Regions from separate parts of the Homo sapiens genome. Here region 2 is linked to region 1. The links are contacts of gene promoters, found by promoter capture Hi-C in human tissues and cell types (Jung and others, 2019). All regions are on one chromosome and are shown on one strand. Each heading gives the region's core, a stretch centred on a gene start or on the middle of the fragment in contact. The rest is flanking DNA. Distances are from core to core; before and after follow the strand shown.

The links. The method cuts DNA at HindIII sites, captures the fragments that hold promoters and counts their contacts. A contact is called where the count stands out against the background at its distance.
Region 2: a contact is called between a fragment that was not itself captured here and the fragment with the promoter of ALG3 in region 1, in 1 of the 25 tissues and cell types used here (hippocampus).

The regions. Positions count from the first base shown.
Region 1 is chr3:184,246,223-184,250,471 of GRCh38, reverse strand. It overlaps ALG3 (ALG3 alpha-1,3- mannosyltransferase), which reads left to right and starts at 1,510. Exons shown (of 9, transcript NM_005787.6): 1 at 1,510-1,727. The coding sequence starts at 1,532. EEF1AKMT4-ECE2 (EEF1AKMT4-ECE2 readthrough) reads right to left here and starts at 800. Exons shown (of 19, transcript NM_014693.4): 1 at 582-800. The coding sequence starts at 777. EEF1AKMT4 (EEF1A lysine methyltransferase 4) reads right to left here and starts at 800. Exons shown (of 3, transcript NM_032331.4): 1 at 582-800. The coding sequence starts at 777. RefSeq lists enhancers at 914-1,023, 1,054-1,113, 1,194-1,243, 1,442-2,185, 2,186-2,929. The HindIII fragment of the contact is 15,241 bases long and covers 1-4,249 here.
Region 2 is chr3:183,854,544-183,858,762 of GRCh38, reverse strand. The region is part of intron 4 of PARL (presenilin associated rhomboid like); the gene reads left to right. Among named protein-coding and RNA genes, the nearest start is that of PARL, 28 kb to the left of the region's middle. The HindIII fragment of the contact is 5,750 bases long and covers 1-4,219 here.

The sequences.
Region 1 (4,249 bases), core at 261-2,760:
CACCCTGGGCGGCAATCTCCCCTCCACCCCTAGAGGGTGCTGTTCTCACTCTCTAAGGCATAGGACCAAGTTTCAGACAGGACTCTCTCTAGGTGACTCTGGCTCCCAGTGCCCAGGGGCAAAAAGAAAAGCGCTGGGCATTATTCTCGAGGTGCCTGCGCGTGCCGCCTCCGATGTGAACTCGCAGTACCATTTCTAGAACTGAATCTAAAGCTCAGAACGGGTTCATGACTTGTCCTAAGTTTTACAAGTCAATTAGCGCTAGGACTTGATCTCGGTCCTCTGAGCAATCCGGTCCCCAAGGCTGCCTGCCTCCCGAGGGTCCGGACAGGGTCTTGGGTACCCCCAACGCTCAAACTCTGAGGGACTGTCTTTCTCCAGAGGGCCCCGGGACCAACAATCTCTTACTCCTGTTAGCCTTGACTAAATACAGCCGGGACTCTGAAGGAGCTGGATCTCGCGTCCCAACGCAGGCGTCCTCCAAGAGGGATAGACAGGCGGGAGGAAAGCGGACCAGGCCAAGCCCATGCGGCGCCGGTCCTGCCAGCTCTACCTGGCGGGGCCGCGCCGGGATTACCCACCTAGCACAAGGATACGGTCCTCGGGCCGCAGCTCCGGCTCTAGGAGGGCACGGAAGGAGGAGAAGTCCCCGAACCAATCGTAGGGGGCAGAATCGGCTGCGCCTTGGTAGCGCTGATCCCAGTACTCGACTTCGCGGTACCCGCAGTTCCGCTCCGGTAACTCCGGAGGCGCCCTACCTGCCCCTGGAGAGGCCATGCTCTCAACCGCCGGGCAGCCAGAGCCGCCGGCCCTTCAGCCAATACGGAAGGCAGGATGCAGAAGGCGGGGCGCTGGTGTCTCCGCCCACCACCTGCAGTTGCTCAACACAAACACGTGGAACTTCCGTCCTTTACTAAGCGCTCTTCGAAGAATCCTCCGGCTGGGAAAACTATCGTCCAGACCCTGAATCCTCCGGCTGTACTGCCAAGTCATTTCCTAGGGCCGCACTCAAGGTGTCAGACTCACGTGGGCTCATCACTGCGTCCTCTCATATTTTCAATATGAATGACTTTTATCAGGAAATCTGAAAATTAGTGAAAGGTTCATTTTTCTCAGCATCCGGAAGGCTCGAAGGGCAGGCAGGAGGGGCGCGAACAGGGGCTTTGCCCTCCTGGAGAGACAGCATGAACACAGATGTTCCCAGCGCAGGCGAAGGAGAATGCTGGCTTCAGCGGTTGTGGGGGAGGTAGGCAGGAATGTTGCTTTTCTGGACATTCGTTCTAAATTAGCGCCTGTGTACCCAGGGCTGGGTATAAACTGAGGAGTAAGACATTGTCCCTGCTCCTATGGAGCGTGGAGTGCATCAGAGGAGACAAATGCAGAAAAATTACATTTTAGTGGAGTAAATGAAGACTGGCTACTCGGATCGGCGCTTAGCCTGGTGGGACGCCAGGCACGGGAAGCGGAACCTAAGTGTCGAAGGTTCGGGTTTCCGGGGGTGGTGGGCCCACACAAGCGGCGCACCGTTAAGATGGCGGCTGGGCTGCGGAAACGCGGCCGGTCCGGTTCCGCGGCCCAGGCAGAGGGACTCTGCAAGCAATGGCTGCAGCGCGCCTGGCAAGAGCGGCGCCTGCTGCTGCGGGAGCCGCGCTACACGCTGCTGGTGGCCGCCTGCCTCTGCCTGGCGGAGGTGGGCATCACCTTCTGGGTCATTCACAGGGTGGCATGTGAGTGCGCCGAGGGGGAGGGGAGGGGAGGGAGGGAGACCTGAACCCGCGACCCAAACTGGATCTCAGACCTGGAACTCCAAACCAGACTCTGTATCCACTCACTCGTCAATTGCGAACCCATCCATATCCCTTACCTGAGCGCCAAGCCTGCTCTACAGAAAACCGGATCTTAATCTGCCCGCATGGCAGAGGTGGATACCCTAGAGATTGGCCTTCTGCACTGAACTTACAGCCTGCAAACCAGCTTAGAAGTCAGATTTGAGCCAAAATTGTTGTACTGCTGCTGCTGCTGCTTTTCTCTGTGGCTTTGGACACCTCAGGTCTCCTCCTGGATCTCAGCTTTTTCCATGTGTTCAGTTCTGTGATCTTTGAACGTCCCTTCTCAATGATGGCATCTTGTGACCACTTGAGTCCATTAGGCATTATTGGCTACTCCTTTCCAGGCTGAAACTATACTCTAGGCTTAAGGCACTTGGCTTTCTTGCTAAAGACTCTTAATTCAACAAATATTTATTTAGTGCTTATTATATGCCTAGCATTATGCTGGTTACCAGAGAGAGGTACAGTGGTGAATAAGAGATGCATTTCTGCCGGGCGCGGTGGCTCACGCCTGTAATCCCAGCACTTTGGGAGGCCGAGGCGGGCGGATCACGAGGTCAGGAGATCGAGGCCATCCTGGCTAACACGGTGAAACCCCGTCTCTACTGAAAAAAAAAAAAAAAAAAGAATTTAGCCGGGCATGGTGGCGGGCGCCTGTAGTCCCAGCTACTCGGGAGGCTGAGGCAGGAGAATGGCGTGAACCCGGGAGGCAGAGCTTTCAGTGAGCCGAGATCACGCCACTGCACTCCAGCCTGGGCGACAGAGCAAGACTCCGTCTCAAAAAAAAAAAAAGAAAAAGGATGCATTTCTAACTCGGGCCTGGACAGTAAGTTAGCAGGCAATTATAATGCATCATAATCATGGTAGTAGTAACACAGGATACCATAAAGGGCATAGGAAGTCACTTAAACCAGGTTGGAGGAGTCAGCAAAGGCTTCATAGAGCCACCCTTGGAAGGTAGGAATTAGCTATTTAAGGAAAGAAGAAAAAGGTGAGGGGAAGGAGTGCTGTGGACAGAGGATCCTCTATTAAAAATCTCCAGCTAGGCTGGGCGCAGCGGCACACGCCTGTAATCCCAGCACTTTGGTAGGCCTAGGCGGGTGGATCTCCTGAGGTCAGGAATTTGAGACCAGCCTGGCCAACATGATGAAATCCTGTCTCTACTAAAAATACAAAAATTAGCTGGGCGTGGTGGCATATGCCTGTAATCCCAGCTACTCGGGAGGTTGAGACAGGAGAATTGCTTGAACCCGGGAGGTGGAGGTTGCAGTGAGCCGAGATTGCGCCACTGTACTCCAGCCTGGGTGACAGAGCAAGCTCCGTGTCAAAAAAAAAAAAAATTCAGTTAGACTGGGCACGGTGGCTCATGCCTGTAATCCCAGCACTTTGGGAGGCTGAGGTGGGCGGATCACTTGGGGGCAGGAGTTAAAGACCAGCCTGGCTGGGCACGGTGGCTTATGCCTGTAATTCTAGCACTTTGGGAGCCCGAGGCGGGCAGATCACCTGAGGTCAGGAGTTCAACACCAGCCTGGCCAATATGTTGACACCCTGTCTCTACTAAAATAGAAAAATTAGCTGGGCATGATGGCAAGTGCCTGTAATCCCAGCTACTTGGGAGGCTGAGATGGGAAAATGGCTCGAACCGGGGAGATGGTGGTTGCAGTGAGCTGAGATCGCACCACTGCACTCCAGCCTGGGTGGCTGAGCGAGACCCTGTCTCAAAAGAAAAACAAACAAACAAACCAGCCTGGCCAACACGGTGAAACCCCATCTCTACTAAAAATACAAAACTTAAAAAATTAGCCAAGCATGGTGGCACACACCTGTAGTCCCAGCTACTCGGGAGACTGAGGCAGGAGAATCACTTGAACCCGGGAGGCGGAGGTTGCAGTGAGCTGAGATCGTACCACTGCACTCCAGTCTGGGTGACAGAGTGAGACTCTGTCAAAAAAAAAAAAAAAAGAAGACAGCCTGGTTCCTTTGAGGAACTGAAATGATTTTTTTAGAGCTAGAGTGTAGAAATCAAGTGAAGGGAGTAGTAAGAGATGGGAATGCAGAAACTGAGGCCAGATCATGAAGGAATTTGAAAGCTTTGTTAAGAAGATAGCATGATAATTAAGAACTTGGGACCCTGCAAGCTTCAATCCCAACTCCACCATCCTAGCTCAATTATCTTAAGCCAGTCACTTAACCTAATTAATTCTTAGGCTCCCCTTCAAAAAATGGGAATAATACAGAGTTTTCTTTATCTTAAGGGTCTTGGGGAATCATTGAGAGGTTTTAAGCAGAGGCCTGTTATGATTTGTATTTTAGGAGGAGCTCTTTGGTGTACGAGGTGGAAAATATATTGTAGCAGGGTGAAAGTAGAAGTCAGGAGCCTAATTAGCAGGCTATTGTATACTCATTGGGGCTAGAGATTA
Region 2 (4,219 bases), core at 1,170-3,669, 390 kb after region 1:
TTATATTTCACCTAATTTTCTGTTCTATTGCCCTGATCTGTCAGCCTTTTAAGCCTCTCCTAGAGGTCCCCAGGCAACCCCCAGAGAGAATATTTTCTCCTCCCTTTCTAGCTTTCAGGGTTGTCTTTGAGGCACTTGCCAGGTTTTCCTGTTAGTTCAAGAGAATGCTGACTTTACTGTATTGAGATTCAGGTAAAGCCACAGGAAAAAATCAGCTAAATTATTATTTTTGATCAAGAAGGAGCAAGGACAGAAAAGGATAGGGAGAGAGATCGCAAGAAAACTGTGCCGTAGTTCCTCTACTAGTGTATTTTTTGTCAGCTCCAAAGCTTAGTCACTACTACTCTCCAGTCTTTGACCCCTTGCCCCAACTTCTAAAGTCTATTCTTTTTTCTTTGCTGTTCTGTTTCTGCCAGGCTTATTCTTTTTCATTTCAGTTCTCTCTCTCCTTGTACCTTTTCAAGGTTTTGAGCTGTCTTCCCAGACTAAGGCCTCCTTACCTATTCCTGATGTTGCTGGTAAGGCAATGTTTTCCTTGGTCTTATAGCCCATCTTTACCTTTTAATCAGAATCAGTCACTGTTTTTCTGTAACTCCTGACTTCCCAGTCTGCAAACAAGTTATTTTTGTAGAAGAATAGCAAAGTTAATCCTTGAGTGCCAACCACACTTCAAGTATCATGCTATGTGCTTTACATGCATTTCTATTATTATTAGTCATCATAAGAACCCTGTTATCCTCATTTCTCAGATGGGGCAAGGAACGGCCAAGTAACTGCGATCACACAGCTAGAACTGGGTGGATTCGGGAATCAAATCCACTTCATGTATCAAAGAATAGGGTTTTTATTATGTCCTTTTCACTTTTCTAGAATAGCAAACCACCATTAATTACCTTTCTGATAAACCACACTGCCTCCCCCTATCAAGTATCTGGGTGCTGATTCACAGCACAAATTGCAGCAAATTGTTCCAAAGTAGCAGCCTACCCCCAGGGAGGAAAGGGAGCCCTTTTTGACTGCCTAGACTAGATTTTGTCATTGTAAAATGAATAAATATGCATGGTAGCAGATGAAAATTGGAATAGAGGATACATAAAGTGAAAAATAAGTCTTTCTCTCACTCTGAACTTCCAGTTCTGCACTTTTCCTTTCCCATAATAACCATTGCATGTTTAGTTACTTGTGTGTTCTTCCAAAGCATCTATTTATATATAGGCATTTATATCTATCTGTGGTTTAACACAAAAATAGAAACATGCAGTACATACTCTTCTGCACCATGATTTTTTTTCACTTAATATTTTAAAGAACATTCTATATCAATACAAGTAGGTTTGTTACATTCTTTTTAATATTTTATTGAGGTATAATATACATAGAAGAATGTGAATATGTCAGATGTACAACTCAACTAATTAATTTTCACAGGCTGAGCACATCCATGTAACCAGCACCTGGATTGATAAATGGAAATTACCAGCACATCAGGCTTTTTTGTTTGTTTTGGTTTGTTTTGAGACAGCGTCTCACTTGTCACTCAGGCTGGAGTGCAGTGGCATGATCACGGCTCACTGCAGCCTCAACCTCCCAAGGCTGGTCTTGAGCTCCTGGGCTCAAGTGATCCTCCTGCCTTGGCCTCCCAAATTGCTGGGATTACAGGTGTGAACCACTGTGCCTGGCCAGCATATTCTTTTTAATGGCATTATGGTATTCCATGTAAATGAGTATTATTTAACAAATCTTTTATTAATAGATATTTAGGTTGTTTTCAGTCTTCTGCTTTTATGAATATTACTACAGTGAAATGCCTTATATATAGATCTCTGTACCTTGTACAAGTATATTTTTAGGATAAGTTACTGGAAATAGAATTGCTGGGTCAAAGAATATACATTTAAAATTTTGTGTATTGCAAAGTTGTCTTAAAAGAAGTTGTGTACCATTTTAAATGTCCTCCAACAATGTACAGAGTATAAATACATCAGATTGATTTCTAAAAGTTCCCCACAGGGGAGGTTAGATATTCTCATCTGCAGGGAGAGTACAGAGAAATAACAATCCTTTTTTGTGGTTAGCAATTACAAGGGCCTTTGCCTCCCTCATTGTGAATTTGCCCTTTCTGTTTACCCGTATTAGTTTCAAACTTTCTGTCTCTATCCCAGTGGGAGGATGGAAGATGGACAGTCTCTCTGGGTTTCTTCTTGATTCCAGGTAGCTGTGGACCCAGTCCTTAATTAGTTTGGTGGATACTGCCTAGGAAAAGAAATGATAGCCACTGTGTGAGGCCAACAGGTTGATCTTTGCACCTGCCTGGTTCCCAGAGAACCTGAGGTAAGGATGGCTTGAGCCTAGTTCTTTGGCTGCTGTGGATGTACTTGCTTGTCAGTGTCTGGACTGGCCAGGTCTGGGTTGGTATAGTAGCCCCTTCAGATAAAGGAGCTTTGGAGGGGTGAATTGGCCCACCCAGAAACAGAGGGGATCTGTGAATAGCTATTAGACCCCAAGTGGTATGGTAAGTCCTTTATAGGAAAATGAGAAAAAGGGTTTTACTACCTTTCTTGGGCTGAGGAGGAAGATAACCTGAGGTCATTGAACCAAGTAGTGCTTTCCAAATCAGTGCATCTGCCTTTTTAAAAATTAAGATATAATTCACATATAAAATTCACCATTTAAAGCAGGGGTTCCCAGCCCTGGGCAGGGACTGGTACCAGAACCGGGCTGCAGAGCAGGAGGTGAGCGGCAGGGGAACAAGTGAAACTTTGTTTGTGGGGTTTTTTTTGTTTTTTTTTTTGTTTGTTTATTTTTTTGAGACAGAGTCTTGCTCTGTCACCCAGGCTAGAATGTAGTGGTGTGATCTTGGCTCACTGCAATCTCTCCCGGATTCAGGTGATTCTCCTGCCTTAGCCTCCCAAGTAGCTGGGATTACAGGCACCTGTCATCACGCCTGGGTAACTTTTGTATTTTTAGTAGAGACAGGGTTTTGCCATGTTGGCCAGGCTGGGATCTAGGTTGTGTACTCCTTATGAGAATCTAATGCCTGATGATCTGTTACTGTCTCCCATCATACCCAGACAGGACTGTCTGGTTGCAGGGAAACAAGCTCAGGGTTCCCACTGATTCTACATTATGATAAGTTGATAAGTTGTGTAATTACTTCATTATATATTATGATATAATAGAAATAAAGTGCAGAATAAATGTAATGCACTTGAATCATTCTGAAACCATCCCCCCACCCCTGGTCTATGGAAAAATTGTCTAACACAAAACCGGTCCTTGGTGCCAAAAAGGTTGGAGACCACTGATTTAAAATGTGCAGTTGGCTGAGTGTGGTGGCCCACACTTGTAATCCTACCACTTGGGAGGCCTGGCACTTAGGAGGCCGAGGTCAGAGGATTGCTTGAGTCTAGACCAGCCTGGGCAGCATAGTGAGACCTCCCACATCTCTCTAAAAATAATAATAAATAAAAATAGAAAGCCAAAGTAAATTCAGTGGTTTTTATTATATTTAAAAGGCTGTGCAACTATTAACGTCATCTAATCCCAGGGCCTTTTCATTATCCCAGAAAGAAACCCCATTCCCGTTAGCAGTCACTCCCCCATTCCCTCCTTCCCTCCTTCCCCTCAGCCTTAGGCAGCCATCAACCTGCTTTCTCTAGGGACTTTCCTCTTCTGGAGATTTCATATACATCAAGTCACATAATATGTGGCCTTTTGTGTCTGTTTCTTTCACTTAGCATAATGTTTTTAAGGTTCACTCGTGTTGCAGTATATATCATCAGTACTTCTGTTTCTTTTTATGGCCAAATGATATTCCAGTGTATGGATATATTACATTTGTTTATTCCTTCATCAGTTGATGGGCATTTGAGTTGTTTCCATTCTTCAGCTATTAATAATGGTGCTATGAACCTCCATGTGCACATTTTTGTGTGGACATATGTTTTCATTTCTCGGTATATATAGCCAGGAATGGAATTGCTGGGTCATATGGTAACTGTTTTTTTTTTTTTTAATTGTAAAAAAAAAAAACATGAAATATACCATCTTAATCATTTTTAAGCATATAGTTCAGTAGAGTTCAGTATATTCACATTTTTGTAAAACCAATCTCTAGAACTTTTTCATTTTGCAGATCTGAAACTCTACTCATTAAACAATACGTCCCCTTTTTCTCCTCCCTTCATCCCTTGATAACCACCATTCTACTTCCTTTTTC